Linked DNA regions of Homo sapiens: region 1 is linked to region 2. The links are contacts of gene promoters, found by promoter capture Hi-C in human tissues and cell types (Jung and others, 2019). All regions are on one chromosome and are shown on one strand. The core of a region is centred on a gene start or on the middle of the fragment in contact, and the rest is flanking DNA. Distances in the headings are between cores, read along the strand shown.

Region 1 (5,887 bases), core at 8-2,507, 990 kb before region 2:
CAAAAATGAACACAAAATTGATCATATAATCTGCATGTAAGAGTCAGTAGTATAAACTCTTAAAATAAAATACAGGAGTAAAATTTTGTGGCCTTGGGTTAGGGAAAGCCTTGATATGGTACCATACTTGATACGATATGAAAAGCATGAGCAACAAAAGACATATAAATTTGGACTTCATCAAAATGAAAAACTTTTGTATATCAAAGGACACCATCAAAAACACGAGAAGTCAACAAAGAATGAGAGAAAATATTAATACGTGCAAATCATATCTAACAAGGAACCTGTACCCAGAATATAATATGACCTCCTCTTACAGCTTAAGAAAAGGACAAATAACCTAACTGAAAAATGGGCAACCAGTTTGAACAGACATTCCTCCAAAGAAAATATATAAATGGCAAATATGTACATGAAAAGTTGTTTGACATGATCAGACATTAGGGAAATGCAAATGAGAACCAAAATGAGATACAACTTTACACCCACTAGGATGACTACAATCAAAAAGCCAGATGACAAATGTTGGTGAGGATGTAGAGAAACTGGAAACTTCATATGCTGCTGGGATTGTGAAGGGTATATACACAGCTGCTGTGGAAAACAGTGTGGAAGTTCTTCTAAAGGCTAAACATACAGTCATCATATAACCTACAAATTCCATTCCAAGGTATATACCCAAGAGAAACAGGCATATGTCCACACAAATACCTGTATACAAATGCTGAGTGTAGCATTATTCACAATAGCTAAAAATAAAACAGTCCAAATGTCCATCAACTGATGAATATATAAATAAAATGTGGTATAGCCATATAATAATCACTTAGCAAGGAAAAGAAAATAAGTACTGATAAATGCTACAATGCAGATGAGATCTGACATGTTAAGAAGCCAGTCACAAAACACCACATATTGTATAACTCCAGTATATAAAATGTCCAAAATAAGCAAATCTATTTTGACAGAAAGATTCATGATTGCTCCTGGCAGCAGGGGGTGAGGAAGTTGGTGGGAAATGGGTACAGAGATTCTTTTGGCGATGATGAAGACGTTGTAACAGCTTTTGAATTTTACAATCCAGAATTCTATTCTCTGCTAATTAGTCAAATAAAGGGCAGAAAATATACATTTTAAAACACAAAGATGCAGACATTACATTCCACATACAAGAGGATGTACCCCAGCAAAACAAGGTGATAAACCAAGAAAGAGAAAGAATGGGATCCAGGAACAACAGCTTCAACCCAGGATAACAACAAAGGGAACTACTCCAGTGTTAACAGCTGGGCAGCCAGAGAGACAGCATGTAGTCCTCATTGAAGCAGAAAGACAGAGGGTTCTGAGACAGAGGTCTCCAGGAAAAAAAAAAAGAACCTGACTTACTGGATAAACAAGTCTTTAGTTTAAAAAACAACAAAAAACTGTATACACATATATATATAAAATCAGGTAGTATAAAGAAAAACAGAACTCCAGAGATTCCTGGGTCACAGAAGGGGAAAGGGCTGTTCAAGAAAGTGAAATTGAACTAACTGAAAATACAGCTATCTTTATATTGGAAGGACAGTCAGGAAGTCAACAGATAAGGCCTAAACTGCATAAAGCAGGAAACAGCAGACTAAAGACATTATTAAGAAATATGGAACACAACCAAAAGAAATAGCAAAAACAATGAAAAGTGACTGTTTTTCATAAGTGAGGCAGGGGAAGAGAAGGGGTTATTTTTTTCCCCATTATATGTCTTTAAGAACTACTTGCTAAAAATATTGGGCACATATGAATTTGATAAAAGCGAAAAACTTTTTACTTCACAAGTGCAGCTTTAACATACGTTGATTACAGTGAAGTTTTTGTTCTGTTAACCACTTTAGTAGGATTTGTCTAAATTTAGTGATTTACAATGCCTGCAGTAGAATCAGAAGATTTACACTGAAGGGATTATAAGTAGCACAGGGGGGCAATGACAAGGCTATTTCCCTAACTTTTAAGAATTTTAGCAATAAGAGTACTCACTGAGAATTAAACCCAAAATATACTGGACAAAACCAGGGAAACTCTAAAATTCAATTAAAAGAGATAGGGTTAAAGTTAGCCTAGGATTTGACTCAAAATAGCTTAAAGGCATTAATATACCTAAAGGAATGCCATGTTAAAAGGGGGCTTGGTCAGAAATAGAAGCACAGCAATGGGAATGAAAGCAATGTTAGCTTATCTCCTGCTTTCTTCAAGGGAGAGAACATCTAAGTTCACAAGTAAAGATCCACGTATTTCAAAAACAAAGACAAATGTTTATTAGTCCCTACAGTCAGAGACAAATGTGTATTAGTCATTACAGTAAATCACTAACATCATCCAATTCCTTGATCTAATTCCATTCTCATCAAGCATACTTCTGACATGATTATTTAACTTTCTATGTAAATATGCAAATAGAGAAATGAATGCAAAGACCATAAAATGAGTGCTTGGTTCACTTAATGGTTATACTTCTCATCAGTACTATTTTATTCTATACATCAGACTCTGTAACCTTAATGAATGCTGCCTGCAGTAAAAGATGAATCACTCTTATGTGCTATCAAAAATCAGGTTTATGACCTTGCATGACTGAGAGCTACAAGCCAGGCCACGTAAGTTCACACAGCTGTTGCCACACTGGGTATGTCCAAGGGTCAGAAGCTTTCCCCTTTTCTTTACACTAAAATGGCTGAAAAATCCAACTTTTTAGATAGACATCAGTACAAGAAAATCCTAAATGCCTATCTTGCCACGAGTCTTAAATGTAGGCATTTAATTCTAACATTTCTGAACTGAATAGTTTAGAGAAGCACTTGCCACCAGACAGCAAGCCAACAGCACTGCAGCACTATTTCAAGACAGCTACAGAATTACTAAATTTTTCAATGTCTTTTACTTGTTCACTTTCACTGCCATAAAGAAAACTTATTTGGGAATAACAATAACTAATGATAATAATCCCCCTTTCCTCCATATGCCCATACTCTTTCCTGCCAATTGCATAGCAAGGAAAACACAGAAAACTTACATGGCACCGTAGTTCCAAATCTAGTGGGATTCAATACTATGAACCTGTTTTTCAAGCTTCTTCGGCCTACACCTTGAGCTCCTATCAATACTAATGTTTTTCTCTGGAAGGGAGGCATTTTGGCTACCTCCTCATATATCTGGATTTCATGACGATCAAATTCTAAATGAAAAAGGAAATGGGAATACAAAGTCAACTTTTATATACATGAAAGAAATCTCTGCAATTCTGTCTAGTAATGGCTTAGCTGTCTTGATAGTTAAATATCACTTGACTTGTACCCACTTAGCATAGATTTGTTTTTACAAATTTGGTAAAGTACAATAAATAATAATTATTTTATTATTGTTTTTAAGACCGGGGCTCACTGTCACCCAGGGTAGAGTATAGTGGTGCAATCTTAGCTCACTGTACCCTTGAACTCCTGGGCTCAATGAAGCCTCCCGAGTAAATGAAACCACAGGTATGAGCCATTATACCCAGCTAATTTTTAATTTTTTTTTTTGTAGAGATGGGATCTTGCTATGTTGCCCAGGCTGGTCTCAAACTGCTGGCCTCAAATGATCCTGCTGCCTCAGTCTCCCAAAGTGCTGGGATTATAGGCATGAGCCACTGTGCCTGCCCCAGTAAATTATTTTATATCTTGCTTTAAACATCTGGTTCCATCCATTTGCCCTTAAAAATTTGTCTAATCGGGCTGGGCATGGTGGCTCATGCCTGTAATCCCAGCACTTTCGCAGGCCGAGGTGGGCGAATCACGAGGTCAAGAGATTGAGACCATCCTGGCCAACATGGTGAAACCTCGTCTCTACTAAAAAAATACAAAAAATTAGCTAGGCGTGGTGGTGTGCGCCTGTAGTCCCAGCTACTCAGGGGGCTGAGGCAGGGGAATCACTTGAACCCAGGAAGCAGAGACTGCAGTAAGACGAGATTGCGCCACTGCACTCCAGCCTGGTGACAGAGCAAGACTCCGTCTCAAAAAAAAAAAAAAAAAAAAAAAAAATTTATCTAATCAAGCTAGAAAAATTCTATGTTTTATCCTTACTTATCAGAGATTCTATCCACTGAAACTTATTATCAATTTGCCAGTAAAAATCCTTTAATATAAATAATCAAATTACAAACCAGTATATATAGAAAGCATGTAGCAAATACGGAGGACAGGAGTAAACCTAGCGTGGTTGCTTAAGTAAGTTCCACAGAACAAGTGACCTTCCAATTATATAAATGAATAAATATTGTATGGCAAATCAACAATTATCAGTTTGATTAGAATTCAACATACTGACATTTACTGACAACATACATTTAAATATTAAGATTTTGAAATTTACATATAAAATAAATTTTAGATCCAACTGTTTCACTAGAAACATAACCCAAAATTATAATCTTAGTCGATGGGAAAATTACAAATTTTCTATTTTGCAAAAAAGCCTTATGGGCATATATTTTATGAATAATAGGGCCAAAGTGATGATTTGAAATATTATATTACCTGTTATTACTGTAACTCTCAATCTGTAGTAATAACACTCCTTCCTTAGCTTATTATCCTAATAGTAACTCTTTCTTTGCACAATTTCCCCACAGTAGATTAAACCAATATTAAGAGAAAGCAAGCCTACTTCTTCCTTCTATATTATTTTCTTTTATGGTGTGCTATTTAGTTTATTACCAGCATAGAGGTAGCTCTGAAGTCAAGAAAGTACTTTTAAAATTGCCAACTCCTTTGATTAAGCCTCCAGAAATTTCTGATTCATAGAGCTGTTTTTTATTTCTGTCATCCTCTGCAACTGGGAAGAATAAATATAGTAGTTTCCATTCTTTCCCTTCTTTCCTATTTATTTATTTTTAATAGCCAATGAGTAGCCAATCCAGGTCTGGGGTCTTATTTTACATTGTTTTTAAAAATCTTTTCAGCTTTACTGAGGTACAACTGACAAACAGGAATTGTATATAAAGTGTACAACTTGATGTTTTCATGAATGTGTACAATGTGAATGATTACCTCGATCAAGCTATTAAACATATCCATCACCTCATATAGTTACCATTTCTTTCTTTTTAAATATATTTCTTTCTGTATGACTAAAAGATTTAAGACAGAATTCTATTAGATCAGACTAAGATTTATTTGGTCCAGTGCTATTTTTCTAAAACTATCATGGTCAGTGTTATGGCAGGATACAGTTGCCCTAAACATAACTCTTTTAACATCTTGACAAAGGCATTCTATCCTTTAGAAATGGCACATAAATTACTATTTCAAAATTCTCTGGACAAATAGTTTCAATTATGATACTGCTTCTTGATTAAGACAAACAAAAATCTTAACCAATTTGTTTTGTGTTGTAAACTATACTCACAAAATAAAGCACATGGTAGTATATATAATGTGGGTTTTAAATAATTTATATTATATTGCACCATGTGTTCATATGTCAGCCCCTTGCAACTAGGTACTAATCTGAATTACACTCACTTAAAGCTGTATATTCAGAGTTTATGCCACACTAAATGACATATAGCTACTTCACTTGGACTTCTCAAAAAGTATTTAAAACCTACCTGCATTTCTGGTTGTGAGATACATCATCTTTTTCTTTTTTTTGCTACTTATAGTTCCACAAAAAGGTCCTGAAGGATGATAAAACAAATATAACTTAAGCAGTATATCAGAATATGAAAAAATTGCCCTATAGTATTTTACAGGGGTGGGAGAATTATCTCCCCAATGTGGCATCCTAGGAAGCAAAAGAGGGTGGAGGTGAGTTAAGCCACTGAATTTTGATACTCTACCAGCAGGTGGCAGAACGGGATCAAAAAAGATTA
Region 2 (6,345 bases), core at 886-3,385:
AGCACTTTGGGAGGCTGAGGTGGGAGGATTGCTTGAGGCCAGGATCTCAAGATGAGCCTGGGCATCCTAGTGAGATCCCATCTCTACAAAAAATTTTAAAATTAGCTGGGTGCGGAGATGCATGCCTGTAGTCCTAGCTAGTTAGGAGGCTGAGAAGAGAGAGTCGCTTCAGCTCAGGAGGTCAAGGTTGCAGTCAGCCATTATAGTGCCACTGCACTCCAGCCTGGGTGACAGAGCGAGACTCTAAATAATAATAATAATAATAGGTCTGCAGTGGGCCTGAGATTCTGCTTTTCTAACAAGCTAACAGGTGATGCCAGGACACTGGTCAGGGCCTCCCACAGTGTGAGTAACAAGGCTGCATGCTTCCCCTCCCAACCGACTCCCACCGAAGTACCTAGGCAAGAGCAAATCCAGGAAAACTCTTCGGAAGGAAAGTTTGTTTCCTTCTAAACTCATATTTTGACTCATCTTCCCACCCCACCTTCCCAGCCCACCTTTTCATATCTAGGTACTCAAGTCCTGTTTTCCCCACTTTTCTAAAATTCTGACGTCAGTAAAGGACCTGATAATCTCTTTCAGAGGGAAGTGTTGCAAGTTATTTACGATTGCAAAAATAATTTCCCAGCCGGGCGCGGTGGCCCAGGCCTGTAATCCCAACACTTTAGGAGGCCGAGGCAGGTGGATAGCTTGAGTCCAGGAGTTCAAGACCAGCCTGGGCAACGTGGTGAAATCCCGTCTCTACAGAAAATACAAAAATTAGCTGGCCGCCTGTAGTCCCAGCTACTCGGGAGGCTGAGGCAGGAGAATCACTTGAACCCAGGAAGCGGAGATTGCGGTGAGCCGAGATCGCGCCACTGCACTCCAGCCTGGGAAAGAGTCAGACCCCGTCTCAATAAAATAAATAACTAAATAATTTCTCAATAAAATAAATAACTACATACATAGGTCTGCCCTAACATGTTCGGAGCTAGGCAAGAGTCAACTGGAGGCCCACAATTCACATATCTAAATATCCAAGTTATCAGTCAACACCAGCTCCAGCAACTTGCTCCCAGGCAAAAGCTCTGGAGAACTGGAGGCTAAAGGAGCCGGCTCTGCTCTGGGAGAGGACGGGATGGTGGTTGTTCTGACCCTGAACCGGGCGTGGGAACTGACCCCATCAAGCTCCTAGCCCTTATTCTTCTGGCTCAGAATATCCAGGCAGTTCTAAGGGTTACCCAAAACTACACAAACAGGGCAGTCAGAGCAGGGGAGAACAGTCAGCTGGGGGGCCGTCTGCGCGCACACCTCTGGGTCATCTGGGCCACCCACGATGCCGCAGAGGAGCCCCTGTCGCTCGCTCCGGCCTCCCTGGCGGAGCCTGGAGCGTCTCCCCTCCGCTTGTACACACACATCCTCCCGCCCCAACTCCGCGTCCTCAGGCGGTCCTCTCCAGGACTTCCCATCCGCCCAGATTCCGGACGATCAAAAACCCCAGGAAGCGGAAAAAGAGCGCGTCGCTGCAGGTGCACCAGCCTCGGTCAGGATCCAGGACAATGAACCGCGTCCTCAGGCCAAAGGAGCGACTCCGTTTCCAGTTTCGGAAGGGGTTTCTCCAGAATACCAAACACCAGTCGGTGCCTTTCTCCTAAAACCAGCACCTCGGGGTGGGGAGCGCGTTCAGAAGTTCACGGTTGACTCAATTACTGGGTTAATTTGATGTATGCTAACTTCTATAGCCCCGAGTACTCGATGTGCCTGTTTTCAATGGCCATTTAAAAAACAGCTGGACCTCTGTATCAATCTAGAGTTAGTCATCCTTCTTGGAAGGGAGCAGAGGGGCCTCTTAAATGTTATTGGAAGACTCATCACTGCATAGAACCGCGTGGCCCTACAATATTTAATTAGGCAAAGACTAAACTGGAATTCATCTAGGCCTCCCCCAACAGCCCAGGCACAGATTCCGGGAACCCCCGCGGACGCCCGCCGGGCCCCTGCTCGCGCCCCCAGCCCAGGGATCCTGGCCCCTCGGAGCGGCGGGGGGGCAGGCCCGGAGCCACAGCCTCACCTCCGGTACTCCAGGTACTCGTCCACCGCCGCCGCGCCGCCGAGAGGCAACGTCAACCGCTCCATTGCCGGTGGGGAAGCCAAAGGCTTCCCTGCGGACCAGCTGACCTCGAAGCCCGACCCGCCCCGTTCCCTCCCGGTACCGCGCCCCCTCCCGCCCGCCTCCTGATTGGCCCGGCCTGAAGCCCGAGGAGGCCGCGCGCGGCAACTGCGCAGGACGCGCGCCCCTACTGGCTGCCGGCGCCAGGCACCAGAACCCGGATCTCCGCAAGCGCAGCCTCGCGCCACATGGAGTGCAGTTTGCCGCCCTCCACAAACCTTGCACCTATTCCCCTCTCCCTTCCCTGGACCGGCGAGTCTTCTTGTAAATTAACAAGTGACAAGGGAGTGCAGTGCCTTGCATATAACAGGCGCATAGAAAATGGCTTATTTCTTTGTACAGCTCTTTTCGCTTAATCCATCTCTTGAAATATAAGTAGTTTTGAGAAGGTTCTGCTTTAGTTTGAGGCCTGCCTCTCCTTAACTGTCGGCCTGTTTCCAGTATTGGCGTTTTCAAAAACTCTGATGTAACAATCAGTAGTCCTGGGTATCTGGGTTCACTTTGGGGGTTGCTAAAGCTACATGTTCTTCAAAGGAACCGAATAACTGATTTAAGGTGAAGCAAGTAAAAACAATTTAGGTGAAGTTTTGTTGTTGTTTTTTAACTTTTGGAAACACTCTGCAAAATATATTTAGAAGCTGAATTACCATGCGATTGGTAATTTGGCCATAATTTGACTTAGCACGTTGTGGAAAAGAATAGGAAATCTTCAGGCGAAGTCATTAAACTCTGAAGCTCCCAGGGGATCAGCTTTAGCGCCCTCTGTAAAGTATCTGGGAGGGAGAATATGCAAACAATAAGAAAAATAATTAAACTTCAGTACAGTACTTTAGTTTCAAAGTACTGTTCTACATATTTCAGGTCCATAAAACATTATGTAAACAAATTGTTTGGGTACCACCCACCTCCCTTCTCGGTACCCTTTCAACAAACCCCACCCTCTCCCCAAAGTCTTCCTCCTGTTCAGAGGCGTTCTTGACAGTCAGATAAATGAGTGATCCTGAAATCGGATTCATATTTTAGGAAACTGATCTCAGCTCAGTATTCTCTCCTATCACACGTGTGGTTTGCTGCTGTCCATTTTACCTCTTCCACCCGACACCTCCCAGATGGGGTCTTGCTCCGTCTCCAAGGCTGGAGTGCAGTGGCGGGATCTCGACTCACTGCAATCTCTGCCTCCTAGGTTCAAGCAATTCTCCTGCCTCAGCCTCCTGAGTAGCTGGGATTACAGGCACTAGCCACCACGCCTGGCTTTTGTGTGTGTGTGTGTGTGTGTATTTTTAGTAGAGACAGGGTTTCACCATGTTGGCCAGGCTGGTCTTGATCTCCTGACCTCGTGATTTGCCCGCCTCAGCCTCCCAAAGTGCTGGGATTACAGGCGTGAGCCACCACGCCCAGCCCCATTCTACCTCTATGAGAGCCTAGTCTTGCTTTTAGGCAGCAACTGAACTAACAAAGAAAAATAGAAGAAAATGCCAGGCTCTGCAGGCTTACAGAAAAGTGGCAGGGGAATGTCTGTGTAGGCAAGTACAATTTAAAAATCTAGAGGGAAATGGTTAAAATAGATTTAGCCCAATTGTGGACTCTTCCAGGAAGATGCTGGAGCAGTAAACTCTTCTGGCCAAAGAAGTCAACAAAAATATTGAGCGTGACGAATAAGAGTATGGAACAAACTAGAAAATGTTATCCTGACCTTACATAAAGCTGACAGATTTGCAAATTAAAATACTGTATATGGTACTCACCTCTGCTTTAATAAAAAGGTATAATCAAACTATAACTTCCTCCCAATGTGTAGCTAAATTGATCTAGGAAGTAGGGTGGACAGAGGAACATGTAAATTGCCTAGGCAAGTGTTAGGCATTTTATTTATTCAATCCTCATGAAAGTTTATGAGATAGGATTTGCCAGCATTTTGCTGTGATGTATAGGTTAAGAATGCTTTCTTCTGAAAATAACAGAATAATTCAACTAACAGTGGCTTAATTAAACATAAATTTTATTTTTTATTGCTTTAAAGAAGAGTGGGGGTAGGTAGTTGCTCACATTGGTTTAGAGCATTTTCCTCATGGTTGCAAGAGCTGTTACAACTCCAGAAATCATACCCAAATTCAAGAAAGGAAAAAGGAGGGCCACCAACATCATTTGTTTCTTTTATCAAAGAGTTTTCCTAGAGGCCTCTGCAAAAAAATTTTCATTTATGTCTCACATGGCCACACCTTGGTATAGAGAAAACTGGGAAAGCCAATCCAGTACTTAGTTTTCCAGGCTCTATGATGGCAATTGTCAAGGAGAGGGTTAGAAATGTGTGTTGGGGCAGGGCACGGTGGCTCATGTCTGTAATCCCAGCACTTTGGGAGGCCAAGGCAGGTGGGTCACCTGAGGTCAGGAGTACATGACCAGCCTGGCCAACATGGTGAAACACCATCTCCACTAAAAATACAAAAATTAGCCAGGTGTGGTGGCTCATGCCTGTAATTCCCGCTACTGGGGTGGCTGAGGCAGGAGAATTGCTTGAACCCAGGAGGCAGAGGTTCCAGTGAGCTGAGATGGCGCCATTGCACTCCAGCCTGGGTGATAAGAGTGAAACTCCATCTCAAAAAAAAGAAAAAAAGAAATGTGTGTTGGGTTAAAAATGTGTTTAGTTCACCAAGAAACATGGTTGGTGACAGCTTATCCTTAAACTGATTAATATCCATGCATGCCCTTCTTCCCATGCAGGCATTGCACACTAAAGGCATTCATCAGACCTCTAAGTAAGGCAGTCCCAAAATCTCAACCAGCTACTGCACCCAGCTTAAAGTCTAAGTCTCTGCAATCTTCTCTCAGTCATTCTTAATCCTGATCAGCCTGATTCTTATTGTCTTAATGGTTTGACAGTTGATAGCTACAAGACAAGAAAGATAATTATTCAGTATGTATCTCCAACAGATAACTTGTTTTTTCGTTTTTTGTTTTTTGGGTTTTTTTTTTTTTTGAGATGGAGTCTCGCTCTGTCACCAGGCTGGAGTGCAGTGGCATGATCTCAGCTCACTGCAGACTCCACCTCCTGAGTTCAAGCGATTCTCCTGCCTCAGCCTCCTGAGTAGCTGGGACTACAGACGCGCACCACCACGCCCAGCTAATTTTTGTATTTTTGGCAGAGACGGGGTTTCACCATGTCGGCCAGGATGGTCTCAATCTCTTGACCTCATGATCTGCCCGCTTCGGTCTCCCAAAGTGTTAGGATTACAGGCATGAGCTACCACGCCCGGCCAATAACTTGTTTTAAAATCCACAATGCCATTATCACACCTAACAAATTAAACAATAATTCCTTGATATCATCTAAGAATACCCAGCCTAGATATCATCTATTAGATATCATCTAATAAACCTAATTTATTAGATGATAATTAGTGTCATCTAATTTTATACTAATTAGAATTCAACCAAGGCCTATACTACCTTTGGTTTATATGCGTTTAATATATTACGAGTCTTTTGTAATTTTAGACAGTTCCCTTTCTCCTATCCCAATTTTTTGTGCCATTAATTTGTTGAAGAATTTGGATCACTTTTCCTGTAGAATATCTTTCTGAATTTGGTTGTTTACAGAAAGACATCACTTACTATGTTCTTTATCCCCTGTATTTCCTGTAAATTTGTACATCAGTCTTGAGACTTGAGTAGGTATTTAGAGTCAGGAGCAGGTCTTCTCAGAAGAGCACTTTATTGATAGTGCTATGTCCTGAATTCATAAATTGAAATTTTGTGAACAGCCCAGGTGAAATGAATTGGGGCTGCAAATTCCCATAAGGGCCGTGTATTAGTCCATTTTCATGCTGCCGATAAAGACATACCCGAGACTGAGCAATTTACAAAAGAAAGAGGTTTGATTGGACTTACAGTTATCCCTTGGTGATAAAAACTTTCAACAAATTAGGCACAGAAGGAACATACCTGAACTTAATAAAGAGTGTTTATGAAAAACCCACAGCTAACATCATACTAAATGGGGAAAAGATGACAGACAGCCTTTCATCTAGGAACTGGAACAAGACATGGATGCCCACTTACACCACTCTTATTCAACATAGTGCTGAAAGTCCTAGCCAGAGCAATCAGACAAGAGAAATAAACAAAAGGTACTCAAATTGGAAATAAAGGAAGTCAAATTGTCCTTCTGTGCAAAGGACATGATCTTATATAGGGAA

What was found. The method cuts DNA at HindIII sites, captures the fragments that hold promoters and counts their contacts. A contact is called where the count stands out against the background at its distance.
Region 1: a fragment that was not itself captured here is called in contact with the fragment with the promoter of FAM221A in region 2 in 1 of the 25 tissues and cell types used here (H1 embryonic stem cells).

The regions. Positions count from the first base shown.
Region 1 is chr7:24,665,826-24,671,712 of GRCh38, reverse strand. It overlaps PALS2 (protein associated with LIN7 2, MAGUK p55 family member), which reads right to left. Exons shown (of 12, transcript NM_001303037.2): 8 at 5,624-5,692; 9 at 3,053-3,214. Among named protein-coding and RNA genes, the nearest start is that of GSDME, 89 kb to the left of the region's middle. The HindIII fragment of the contact is 3,281 bases long and covers 1-2,897 here.
Region 2 is chr7:23,675,989-23,682,333 of GRCh38, reverse strand. It overlaps FAM221A (family with sequence similarity 221 member A), which reads right to left and starts at 2,135. Exons shown (of 7, transcript NM_199136.5): 1 at 2,051-2,135. The coding sequence starts at 2,115. RefSeq lists an enhancer at 1,332-1,581 and a silencer at 1,912-2,201. The HindIII fragment of the contact is 14,044 bases long and covers 1-6,345 here.